Regions from separate parts of the Homo sapiens genome. Here region 1 is linked to region 2. The links are contacts of gene promoters, found by promoter capture Hi-C in human tissues and cell types (Jung and others, 2019). All regions are on one chromosome and are shown on one strand. The core of a region is centred on a gene start or on the middle of the fragment in contact, and the rest is flanking DNA. Distances in the headings are between cores, read along the strand shown.

Region 1 (6,758 bases), core at 3,508-6,007, 71 kb before region 2:
TTGCCCTTTGAAAGCCCCACTATTGTTCTGAGAGCACCCATTTGTGACACAGAAAAACCAAGAGTTGCAAGGCCCAGATGAGGGTACCTGGTTGAGATCTCGATTTTGATAATTAGACTTTATTTTTTTATTCCTACAAAGCCATTAACAAATACACCATTTCACTGGCTCCCCTTCTTCAATGTAATAAAAAGCAAAATTGTTTGTGCAGTCAATAAAACTAACTGTGATGACCTCTTTGATTTTTTATTATACTTAGAATTTACAAATTCTCTCACTTATCCCATTGCTTCACATTAAGAAGGGCAACTAATGTTTAAAAATTCAGTTTTCATATTGTAGTTTAATAGTTTTAAACTATTTCTACTGTCCTAATTAGGAAGGTGCAAATAAAACATTTTTTCTGATGGTGCAAAGAGACTTTTTTTTTTTTTTTTGCTTCTTAAACAGGGTAGGTGAATTCACTGTGGCAGCTTTTAAACCTCTTTTTCTCTCACTGTAACAATGCTCCTGGTAGAGGGCCTGAGAAGACAGCCCTGTGGGTGCTGATATTTTTTTCATGGTAGAGAAATCTGAATTCTTGGGGGCATCAAAGGAGTGAAGCAGGTAATATTTGATTGGCAGGACATTCTCTGATTTACACCCCTCTATCTTCTAAGCCTCATCTTCAGGCTTGTCCCCAGCAGACCATAGGCAAGAAGCCATTCTCCAGAAAGCTGTGAGATGTTACCAGGTCTCCCCCAACCCATATTTTCTAGGAACCTTTATTGCTCACTTAATGTGAGTTGATGGGATTGAATGCAAAAATCATTGCCCCAAATTCCTCAATGGAGAGTCATCATAGTGGCCACATCTCTGTTCTCATTCAATGGGAAGAGATGACCAGTGTCTTTGTTTATTTGTTCCTATAAAATGCAACCACTTGGCAGAATGTAGTAGGTCAGTAATGGAGTGTTTTGGTAGAATGGTGGCAGAAACCCACAGTGTTTCAAGCTGCCCTGATGCTAAAGGATGGAAAAAATAGGGCATGCACCTCAAGTGTTCATTTATTGTCAGCGCTAAGCTGTGCTTCTGACATTGGCTTTGAGAAGGAAATTATGACATTTAAAAGAATCTCCCAAGCTTTATAAAAAGCCTGTGAATATCTATAAATATTGATCCAAAATGAGTGCAATGAATAATTTATAGTGAAATATACTTTCTTTGTCTTTCAGTTTTTAAAGCAGCTTGGGTTTTTTTTCTCTAAAAAAATTACGGTTAGACAAGCATATTTTTCCTCTACGTTTTAGAGCCATTTCTTATTTTTAGAAAAAAATGTGTTATTTGCAAAGGATGTTGGAAGTTCGGGGAAAAAAAGCAACAACAATGCACACATTACCAAAATGGAAACATATTGTAGATGTTCTAGTTTCAGGGAAAAATATAACAAGATTTTTTAAAAAGTTTACATAATTTGTTGTCATAATTTTGTTGTCTTTGGTGCATGTCCTCAATTTGCAGAATCATTTAAACATTTCTATGTTTACTTGAATAAAAATAGGAATTTCATTTGTTGGAGCTAATGATTCCAACCCAAAATATACTCTTGTGTAATCAGAGCAAAATAAACAGGTGCGTCCAGCATCACTCACCGTATGCCTGAGAACGGGCAGCCCATTTGTAAGACGAGCTAAATATTCTCCAACCTAACCAGGAGCTGGGCTCTAATTGATTACCTTTCTGGGTCATTTTTGAAATGTCCATTAAATTTTCACAAGAGGCCAGAGTACCCCAAAGTGTCCTACTCTTTTTCCCTTTCGCTCTATGCCCCTAGACAGAAATACATAGAAATGAATGCCTCCCAGTTTTCTTGAAGAAGCCATTGGTTGTTAAGTTCATGGCTCTAAATGTGCTTAGATGAAAGGTTTTCTTGTTTTTCTTTTCCGTTCTGTTCAGGTTGCCGTATCAGATACATTGAATTTTGTTGTTGTTGCTTCAAAATCTTATCAGTTTTTTGTTTGATTCATGTAATGGAAATGAAGACAAGAAAGAAGGAATTAACTATTGAGTCTGAAAGTTGCCATTTTAAAAAACTTTGACCTTCATGTGTTTTCATACCTCATCCCAGAACTTTTGGTTCATTTACTTCCTTGGGCTCACCAGAGATCTTGCATATACCCGTGATTTGTGAAGTTTTGTTCAGAAGCACGTTGAATTCAAATATCCCATAAAATCAAGTGATTGTGCTCTGCTATTTTTCTGAAGCCTCCTTATAGGGGCTAAGTAAACTTTATTTCCTCAAAAAGAAATCGTACATTTCTTCTATTGAATTTGATAGAGCACAAAACAGATGTGTTATGTAGTGTTTGCCTGAAATAATGAAACAGGGATTCTATTTAGATACCTCAAAATGTGTGCTGGCGCTAAGTTCTACCTATGTTCCAGAGAGAGAGTGCAATGTTATACCAGAATGTGCAAGCGTTTTGGAATCATAGCAGAAATGGATTCAAACTTAGGTTCTGCACTGGTTGACTATGAACCCAGGCAAGTAACTTAATCTCCTTAATACTGTTTGTCTATTTGTAAAAGAATTACAGGAATAATAACGATGATGATGATGATGATGATGATACCTGCCTCATAAACTTGTTCTGAATATTAAATGAGATAGCATATTTGACAAACCTAGTACTGTAAAACTGCTAAATAAATGCCTTTGGCTTCTCTCCCTAGCCTGGACAGTAGCCTCCTAAACATTCTCTAATAGTTCCTTCTCAAATACATATATATTTGAAAGCAATATCTCCCTGAAACAGATATCTGACTCTTAGACTCCCAGTTCCTTATAGCACAGGTCTAAATACCTTAATCAATGTTTGGAGTTCCCACGACATAGCCCAGTCTTGGTGACCTGGCACATCTCCCTCTCCTTCACATACCTTGTATTGCAGTCCAATCAATGTGCTTCCTTCTAAGCCCTACTTTCTTTTTACTGCTCCAGCTCCTTGGTGAATTACCCTGATTGGGATTAATTTCTCTTTTCTCTCTAAAGCACTTTACATTCGGAACATTCTGACTTGGGGTAGGTCCCATCTCTGCCATATACTATACTGTAAATTCCTTAGGTCCGTGGCAGAATCTCTGCCCTCTTTGTATCGAGCCAGCCAGCACTTAGCCTGTATGCCACTGCTTTTACACCATGATGTACTCAAGCATACTTTTAGGTAGAGTGGCCACGTAATTTATCATCTAAATTGGGACGCCTGTTCAAGAAAGATACTGGACTTAATAAATGCTAATACCACAGTCCCACAGTCCTGCTAATGGCATATTAAAGAAAACCTGCTTCCCAACAGTGGGTTGAGCTTAATTCTGTGTTTGAGGATGGAATAGCCATTTTAAGTGTTAAAAAAGCTGGGTTAGTATCAACAGGATGTTCATAGCTAATTTAAATCCGAGCATATTCAGTCTAGATAGCTATAGGGAGGGGGCTGACTTAGAAAAGCGTAGGGTAACATATTTGATAAATGAATTTTAGAAATAATTATAACACATGCAGAAGATACTTATAAATGCTCATTGGTCCCAGAAGGTTTCATTGTATGACACAGCTACCACTTGGTGGATGCTTCCACACTCACTTTAACAATGTTCACAGAAGCACAGTAAGCTCTCTTTGCCCACACTACGTGAATCTTGACAATACATTTGGAGTTGACTAATTGATGGAATGATTTGTATGTTAAGCAAAATTATGTTTGAGATCTTAGCATTAGGCTTTCTTAAAATGTGTTGTCTTCCCCATGTTAATTCTGCATTTACTGAGAAAGAAATATTCTAACATCACGTGTTAATTCCATTATCTTTAATGAATTGATTATTTCTAAACGTGGGGAGGGAACAAATCTTACATTAAGAATCTCTGTTACTTGGATACACTCCTTGCAGAATGACAGTGTGACAATTCAACAATGCTATTTGCACCATATTTGTATAACGTCTACACCCCATGCATGGGTGTATTGTTTGTCTGGAAAGTTTGAACATCAACCAACATTAACATTTTTTCTTAGCTGTCTGCTCTAACAGAGGCAAGCCTAAAGGACATAAATGCCACATCCCTCAGACAATTGTGTGAATAATTCTCCCTGGGTCCATTGCTTCTGGGTTTTGGCCTTGGCTCCTGGTGTTCACAGCATTAAGAGGGTTAAAGGTTCTGGCATGGTGAATTTATTGTTGACATCTCACAGTCCTTAAAGGCAGGATCACTAATGGGTGACCTTGGGGTTCGACCGTTCCAGACCCAAGAAGATCAAGTCTCACCCCCCTCCTGCAAGTGCGATGACCCCTCTATTCTCACTCTCCCTGGCCTAACCTTTAACTCACTGATCTTTGACCAAAGTATTAAACAAACACCTGCTTGGGTCTGTGGTCAAAGACTGTGGACTTGAAGATCTACCATCATTTCATGTGAATAAGCTGTGGTAATAATAATGAAATATAGAGCAGATCTCTGGACACGCTTACAGTAAGTAATTATATTGTTACTGACCACATACAACATAGATTTTCTAACAACCCATGTATACGGTGAATCAATGTTAATCAAGCTGACCAGAGTATTCATGGGTTGTCAGTGGATACACCAAGGCTTCTATTATTTGCATTAACACCTGACAATAGTGCAGCAATGTTTATTCCCTGTTACTAAAAGAGACCGAACCTAAAATTAAGTTTAGAATACCTTAGATTTGCTATTGACAGTAAGTAATGCAAAATGCATTGATGCTTAACAGAGGTACCGAGGATCATTGAAATGATTAGATGAAAAGAATATTTGGTGAAATCAAGTGACATAAATTTTGTGCTTTGTGGGAAAGAGGGAGAAATGGTACATTGACAGTGTACTCTGAATACTTAAATTAAAAAAAATCAGACTTCTTTTTGTTGCTCTAAATTGTTTCACTGATGCTTTGTAAAAACAGCCTCACTTGATATGGTGAAACCTCCTAAAATATAAAATCACACCAGGAAAAGTTTTTACAAAAGACTAGGGGAGTCTCTCACTATGAATAGTAAAGTGTTATTCAAAAAAGACCTACTTTGCTGTTTTTCATTAGTCTAGTGTAAATTGTTAGGGCTCATCTTTATAAATCAAAATCAAATTAGATACATTTAATAAACCAATTACACCAAAGAGTTAAGATTTAACGACTACTTTATCTAAATATTTTATAAATAAATGACATATTTCTGTCGCATAACCTTTACTCTACTTAGAAAGCTTTAATGAATTTACAGTTCTGTTTTAGCAAGTGAATAATACACTCCCGCTTTCTGAGAGCACCGACTTCACAAATGCTCAACACCAAAATGAAATTGTATGATATACAGAAGAAACTTCATACTTCATTACATATCTGCAGCCTTTTTCATGATACTATAATGTTCACAACTTTGAATGAAATAATTAATAGCACTGCAGAATACCACGCCATCAAATCCAGATTTTTTTCTCTACGCTAAAATTGATAGTGCTTTTATTGGTATATATAGAACTCTATTTTTTCTTATTTCCCCTTTCATTTGGGGAGAGTTGCTTACTTTTTTTTCTGATCTTAAGTAGGTCTCATAAAGTAGAGCCAATATTACCACCCCCCACTCTTATCCATACTCTACTCTTTTATATGCCTTTATTGTAGTTTTATTTATTCATATATATTTCGGATGCCTACTCAGTGCTGGGCACTATGCTAAGTGACTGGAAAAGGTGAAGATAAGTGAAGCTTCATTTTTGCATTTCTATGAGTTTTGGACAAGGAAACCCCCACATTTCATTAAGGGAGACACTTTTTATTAACTACATTTCTTCTATAAACCCAGACATCAAAATAACGTGGAAAGACACTTAACCACACATTATTGAGTAAGAAATACCTATTTTTATAATTTACATACACTTCTATTGTAGTTTTATTTATTCATATATATTTAGATGCCTGCTCAGTGACAGGCACTATGGTAAGTGGTTGGAGAAGGGTGGAAACTATTTGCAACTCCCATTCACAGACTAGGAAACTTCAGTTTCCCAATGTTAATCATGTATGTTTAAGCGTCTGTCCAGATTAGGAAACTTCAGTTTCCCAATGTTAATCATGTAGGTTAAGTATCTGTCCAGACTAGGAAACTTCAGTTTCCTAGTTACCCATCTAGTAACTGGTGGAGCTGAGATTTAAATTCAGACAATCTGACCCTAAAGCTTTTCTTGTAACCACTATTTCAACTACCTCGCAACCTGAGCAATAAATCCATTTAGAAGGCCATGCACCTTGGTTTCTACCTCTCCCATGCTGCCTTATTTGACATTGCCATAGATTCAGCTGGGCTTATGTCAGTTTCCTCTGTAATTTCCTGAGATGAAAAACTAAGCTTCACTTATCTTCACTTTCCCCAACCACTTAGCATAGTGCCTGGCACGGAGCAGGCATCTAAAATATATATTAATAAATAAAACTAAAACAAAAGTATATATAAATTGTAAAAATAGATATTTCTGTCCCAATGTTAATCATTTATGGTTAAGTATCTGTCCACATTATTTTGACATCTGGGTTTATAGAAGAAATTTAGTTAATAAAATGTCTCTCCCTTAATGAAACATCAGGGCTTCCTTGATCAAAACTCACAGAAATGCAAAATCTCGGTCTTGATTAATTTGGGCAGATCCTTTGGGCATGTGTGTGTTTTCTCTTCTGGCAAAGATATTGTCTAACACAACC
Region 2 (6,494 bases), core at 2,706-5,205:
CAGAGAGGGCCATGGGGTGGCAGTGACTCTCAATGGCAGGGCTTCCTGGGGACTGGCTTCGGGTGCATATCACGCAACTGCTTATCCATGTAGTTTCTGGGCACAGAGCAGCCCAGTCCCTCCCCAGACGAAGGGCCACTCCTTTCCCAGCCCACCTGCCGGGGGCTGAGCTAGGGTCCCTTGCGTCCTCCTCATAACTGAACTTCCCAGGGCTGTCTGCGTCCCAGGGAAGGATGAGGGGGATCCAGGACCCATGTCCCCACCCCTCAGCCCCAAACAGTCCTTTCTCTCCTTGACATCAACTATGCAGCCACGTTCCTCTCAGTGGGAAACAGACTGTAGTTAAGATGCAGATCTTTTTGAAAGAAAAAAGAAAAAAGGTATGGGGCTGCAAGCATCGACTCCTCAGAGTCAGCTGTGCCCGGTCAGGCAGGGCAGCTGCTGGAGGGCCTCCTTTGACAGTAGGGGGAGGCTCCAAGAACCCTTCCCAGAGACACCTGGATAGGGCTGGAAGGTGGGAGAGAGGCTCAAAAACACGTGCCCTGTTGCCTGTACGGGCTCGGGACTGGCCCAGGACAGGGGCCAGTTGTCAGGCACTCCTAGTAAACTAGGGATGAGCTTTGCCCCAAGGGAAGTGGGCACCTGGGGCACCCTCAGCCCATGGCTTCTTGACTTGGCCACTTCTGTTTCTCTTCATCTGCATTCTATCCCCAAGAGAGGCATGTCCCCAGAGTTAGGGGCAGAGGGAGGAAGCACAGACCACATCCCTGAAGCCTTCAGGCTCAATCCTCTTTGGGTGAGGTCCAGCCAGTCACCTCTTCCTGCGCTGTTAGCCTTGTCCTGACCTCACTCTGACTCTGGTTTCCTAAGGGACACTGTGTTCTTCCTCTCCTCTCCTTCCTTCTTTTCTTGACACAATGAGGTTTTTCATCCTGACTCTTTTCTTTGCTCTTGCTATGCTCTCTCTCTTTCTTCAGATATAATCTCAGCATTTACTTTTCTGTTTCTGCCCATCTGTCTCTCCTGAGTTGGGAGTCCTGTGGGTATTTAAGACTGATCAAATAGCCCTCTGTTTGGATGCACTCCCCAGCAGTGATAGCCCAATACAGGGGCAGCAGGGAGCAGGGGGGCTGTCACTCCAGCTGAGTCATCTTCCTCCTTTCTCCTCCCCAGGCCTGGCTTTCTGGTGGCAAGGAAGCACCACCTTGGTGATACTCCAGTGTCACTCCACCTCTTCGCGGCCCCCTCCAGGAACCGCCTCCCCCGCCAGCCAAGACTCCATTGACCATCATCTGGGCTGTCCCCATCTTCTTGGGACCTGCCCCTGGGCCTCTGCCCTTCAAATGGGGACACCAAGGACACAGCTTCCAGCCACAAGCCCAGCCCTTGTAGCACTGACATCCCAAAAATCTGGATCCTGGGGGCTTCCCTGCTCCCCCTCCCCAAGTCCTGTGCTGGTCTGAGGAAACCTCTGAACCATGTCCCTTATAAGTCCATATGGCCATCAGAACCCCTTCAAACCTGAGGTCTCCAGCATTTGGGAGCATTTTCAATGGCTGTCTTGGAGACCGTTCCTGCTGTATCCTAACTTGCCAGGTAGTTTTCTTTTCCCCGACATCGGTGCTGCTCAAGGGAAGGACCCCGATTAATAGGTGTGAGTATGTTTTGGTTTTAAACTATACATTCCCAAGTAGGCAAAGAACTTTCTGGTTTCCAACTTTCTATCTGCCTGGTGAGAGGCAACAAATATTATCATTGACTCCCCTGGAGGATTTTTTGATGTTAACTTTCTCCCAGTAGCTGTATTTACCCATGAGAGCAGGGACTAAAGGGTATGTCTACCTGAGCCATCCGCCTGCATCCTGTATTTCTCTCTTCATTCTCAGCATGTCAGTCTGCCCTTTCTCACTGCCCAGCAAGGTACTTGAATGCAGGAACTTTGTCTCATTCATTTTTGTATCCCCTCTGCCCAGCAAAGCTCAACAAATATTTGATAAAGCAATGAGCTTACAGATGGGTGAATTCCTGAACAAATATCAGACGAGAGTGACAATAGGGAAATGCAAAGGGAAGTGAGTGGTGTGGTGTCCTGGCCAGGATGCCAGGATGCCTGGCATTTGGGTCTGTTGAACTCTGATTTACCTAGAAAGGTTTTAATGGACCTTCCCCACAAAATCCTTTTCTGCAGGCTCTCTACATGTGTGAACATGATCCAACAGCAACACCACAGTTAGATGCTCCAGAGCCCTGCCTGAAGAGAAATCCTACATCCATCTCCTGCTTAGTAGGGGAGCACTGAGCAACGTTGGGAGCCATTTATTTCCTTCCTTGGGATCACACTTCTTCCCCAGATGTCTGATTCTGGTTTTCATCTGCAGTGATGGCCTTCATCTTCTCCCAGGGCACTGGGCCCTGAGATAGCAGAGCTGGCCAGCAGGAGGACTATGTGAGGGCTTCTCTGGGTCCAAAGGGAGTTCCCCCACCCCCGGGGGTTGGAGGAAGGAAAAGTGGAGGTGCTCCTGCTAGGGTTTTGGGAGCAGCCTCACGGGGGCTCTTGTGGAGGTGGGCATGCCTTGGCACCCCCCTCTCCTGGCTATTCTGTGCTGTACCCACAAGGCTTCAAGCACCTCCCCAGAGGAGGCAGCCCGATCTTCTCCACCTGGGAGCCATTTCTGAGTCTCCCTCACACCTGAGCTTCCATGGACAGGAGACCTCGGCTAGAGTCTGAGGAGTCTGGGAAGATCTCAAGCCTGTCCCCTTCCCCTAGGCTACAGTACTGGATGCTCAGCCCTCCACCATTATGGGGGTGTTTCCTGGCCATTCAGCTGATCACTGTTAAGCTATCATTTCTCTCTGGAAAGGATGCCCAGACCCCATCCGTCTACTTCACCTTCCTGGGTTCCATTCCCTTGTTTCTGGGGCAAGGCTTTTGGGAGGGCTGGAGAGAGAGAGGATGAGGGGACAGGAGAAGGACACTTTGGGCTTTCTGTCCTCCTCCTGTCCTGCCTTAGCTGGCGCCCTTCACTCCCTGTCTCCTGCCTCTGACTGGAACGAGAAAATACCTTGCACATCCCAGGTCCACCCAGCCAACCCTGACTGGTCCAGTAAGCTGTTTCTTCTGCATTTCAGCCCTGGTTCCTGATTCTACCTCCCCCAGGTCTCTACCATTCCACTCTCAGCTTCCTCCTCCTTGCCACCCAATTCTTCTTGGCTTCCCATCACTTCCCCTCTCTTTTACCTCTCTGCCCCTGTCTCGCCAAAGGCTCTCTCCTGTCTGTGGTTCTACTTGATCTCCGTAACTTTTTCCTTCCCTCCATTCACCCTGGACATTTTGCCCTCATGATTTCTCCTTTCCTCTTGTGTATTTGTCTCTTGATGACCCATTTTCCTTTCAGAGAAACTGAGGCTCAGATAGGTCAGGGGTGATGGCCTACATGGGACAGCAGGACTTAGTAGACAAGGCCTTGCATCCTTGCGGCCCTGCTTTCTGTCTCATCCCTCTTCCCTTTTGTCTTGGTCAGCCGCCCAAAGGCTCCAGCTCTGCATCCAGCAGGGGAGCCCCTTGGGGGGTTCCAGAGTCCACAACTGCACACCCGTCACCTTCACCCACTGCCTTGTTGTAGCAAACCTGCAGCCACCCTGTATATTGTATATGTATATTTATCTATTTGTATATAGATATACAATTTCAAGAACCTACTAAAGGAGGAAGCCTCACTGCTATGCAGCCTGACAGGTTATCAAGTGGGCCTCTTTGAATCCCTTTTTGCTTCTAGGAGAGTTGGGAACCATGAGGTGCCCCCCTGCAGACCCCAGAGCTGCTGCCTTCCCCAGGTGTGCAGGAGGTTTGTAGGAGACGGGGCCCCTTGGCTGCCCAAGCTGCCACCCCTCCCCCACCCGCCCAGTGGCAGTTGCGTCCGTTGGGGCTTCTGGGGCAGCCCACAGGGTTCCGAGCATGTGCTGGCAGTTGCTCTTTGGAGCACCCACTTCACTTCTCCCATGTAGTTCCTGAGTGCAGGACTCTCCTGAAGAAGGGGCGTCTAAAAGGCCAGCCCATGCATCTTGTTCAGACCAGGCTGCTCCATCTCCGCTAAGCCCAGGGATCCACTTGTGTGTCTTTCTGGGATAATTGTCTTTAGTGGCAGCCTGGGCCTCGGGGAAGGAAGGGCATGAGGAATGGCCCCGGCTGGGATGTCAGGGGCCCAGGACAACTCCTGTCTCTACCAGGAAATTGCCCCCTCTTTTCAGAGGCTGCCTTGTCCTAGGTATCTGATGTCCTGCCCTTGGCAGTTTTCAACTCCAGATGTAGGTCTGACTCCTATTAGGCTACCATTTCTTTGTGGGAAGACAGGTATGAAATTGCAGCATTCCTAATTCTCTTAATGTGAATTGTCAGAGCCCCTTCAGACCGGTGGCTGGGGCCAGGCATGAGAGGCAGGTGGTAAGGGCAAGAGGAGCAGCCCCTGTGCACTTGGGGAGGCTGGAAGGGTTGGCGAAAGGAGCTGAAAACACCCTAGATTCCCCAAATGGCATGAAGAGATCCCAGCCCTGAGGCACCTCCCACTCAAGCCGGAGATGAGCTTTTCCCAAAATCCAACTCTATGAGGCTCTCACTCAATGTGGGCTCCTGATGCTGAGGGGACATCCTGACACCCCTGTGTTCTCTTCTGCAGAACCTCGTCGCGACATTTCTCAGAAGCCATGACATGTCCCTGCGGCTGGAGGCCTTTCAAGGGTGGCCCAGGAGGCCTCAAGGGCCCGGTGTGGCCTGCAAAGGAAGGTAAGTAGGTGGCAGGGCTGAGTCTGTGCCTCAAAAGCCAACACTCCAGTTTCTTGACTTCCTCCCTTCTCCATTTCCTGAACCTGGATGGGTGCTGCCGGGGATGGTGGGAGGGATGAGACGGAGGACCCCATTCATTTGTTAGGAGATCCAGAGTTCAGCCTCTCCAGTGCCTTGGCTGCCCCCTTCCTCACTCCCAAGTGCTGCTCGTGCATATTTACTCATTGCTCCCTTTTCCTGAGATGGTGCGTATTCTCCTTTAAGAAGTGTAAACCAGACGAGTCTCTTCGGTGATAGCTCAAGGCATAGTCAGCTGCCCACTACTGAGCCTCCTCCCTTCCTTCAGCCTCTGCCCTCTCCAAGCTCACTCTGGCCTTTCTTATCCTAGGTAGGCTCCTGTCCTTTGTCTCTATTTTTGCCTTTGATCACAACTTCTCTCCTGTTGTCCCTTTGGAATGGCAGCATCATTCTGCAGCTTCTCGGTCAGCATGGGTTATGGGTTTGTGCCAACAGCGATGCATGCTGTCCCCAGAGTGGCTGGATGGGCCTTGGACAATCACTCACGTACCCAAATGTGTTCTCCAGATAACCTTTCCTCTGTGTATACGAAGAGAGAACGTTTAGGGAGCACTGTTCTCCTTCTCACCCATTCTCTCTGTTTTCCTCTCCATCATCTGGGATGTCTTTCTCTGTGTGCCATTCTGCCTCTAATTATCCTCTTTTTCTTTGTTTACAGAGAACAGCTGTTCTCACGGAAGGATCCAAAGGGTTCAAAGGCGAAGGGTGCCATCTGCTTCCCCACTGATTCAGAAGATAAACAGGAGAAGTGTCCTGTTTCACCCATATTGCTGGTCCTGATTTTTCAATAGTGTCCCTACCCTGAAGCTCTTCCATTGGTCATCATGGAGTTAGCTAACAGCCCAGGGAACTGGTCTCTTTTCCCTTTTCCCTTACCACCTGGAACTCACCTGGAAAGGGCAATCAGCTGGCTCTATATCAGACGCCACCACCTGGTCTTTGAAGTTTCTGTCCTACCAGTGCCACAGCTCCCTCTCCCACTTCTGAACTACCTCCAAGAGAGACCATCCTCAGCAGCCTAGTATGTTATGCTAGTCCTGGAATGGTGTATTCTGGATGTCTACTCAAGGCCAAACCCCAGTATTGCCTTTCGTTTCCCTATTCAAGGCCAAGGCTAGATTCTCTTCATTGTCTCCATTTCTCTTTCTCCAGAGCTCCTATAGGGCAAGACACTGTTTCTCATATATTTCTGGATCCTTGGAGCTTAGCTCGGAGCTTGGCATACATGCCCAGCATGAACTTTTCTGAATAAAATAATTTCAAATGCTGTATACAGGATACTGTTTGGTTTTTTTTTTTTTTGTTTGTTTGTTTTTTTTCTGAAATTAGAACTAAAAGCAGCTGAAAGCAAGCTTGGGGGCCATCCTGGCATGCTCAGGGAGAAAAATGAGGGGGATGAGGGCCATGAGACAGGCATGCGTGTGTTCAGAAGGGGATTTAAGGACCAGTGTGCCTACTGGGGCAGAGTTAAGACTCAGCACACACAAGGCTGATCTTGAGGGCACTTCATGAATTTCAGATTCAGGGACTATTATAGACCTTGAAGCAACCTATCATGAGTGGTAGTTGTTGCAACAACACTGGAAAAAGAGACATTTCATCATACTGTGATCCAAGAGGGATTTCATTCTCTGCC

The links. The method cuts DNA at HindIII sites, captures the fragments that hold promoters and counts their contacts. A contact is called where the count stands out against the background at its distance.
Region 1: a fragment that was not itself captured here is called in contact with the fragment with the promoter of SPATA8 in region 2 in 3 of the 25 tissues and cell types used here (dorsolateral prefrontal cortex, spleen and thymus).

What each region holds. Positions count from the first base shown.
Region 1 is chr15:96,707,759-96,714,516 of GRCh38, forward strand. No RefSeq gene overlaps it. Among named protein-coding and RNA genes, the nearest start is that of SPATA8-AS1, 72 kb to the right of the region's middle. The HindIII fragment of the contact is 3,131 bases long and covers 3,193-6,323 here.
Region 2 is chr15:96,779,480-96,785,973 of GRCh38, forward strand. SPATA8 (spermatogenesis associated 8) reads left to right here and starts at 3,956. Exons shown (of 3, transcript NR_158223.1): 1 at 3,956-4,110; 2 at 4,674-4,780; 3 at 5,517-6,136. SPATA8-AS1 (SPATA8 antisense RNA 1) reads right to left here and starts at 3,858. Exons shown (of 4, transcript NR_102753.1): 1 at 3,697-3,858; 2 at 1,522-1,623. The HindIII fragment of the contact is 9,916 bases long and covers 1-6,494 here.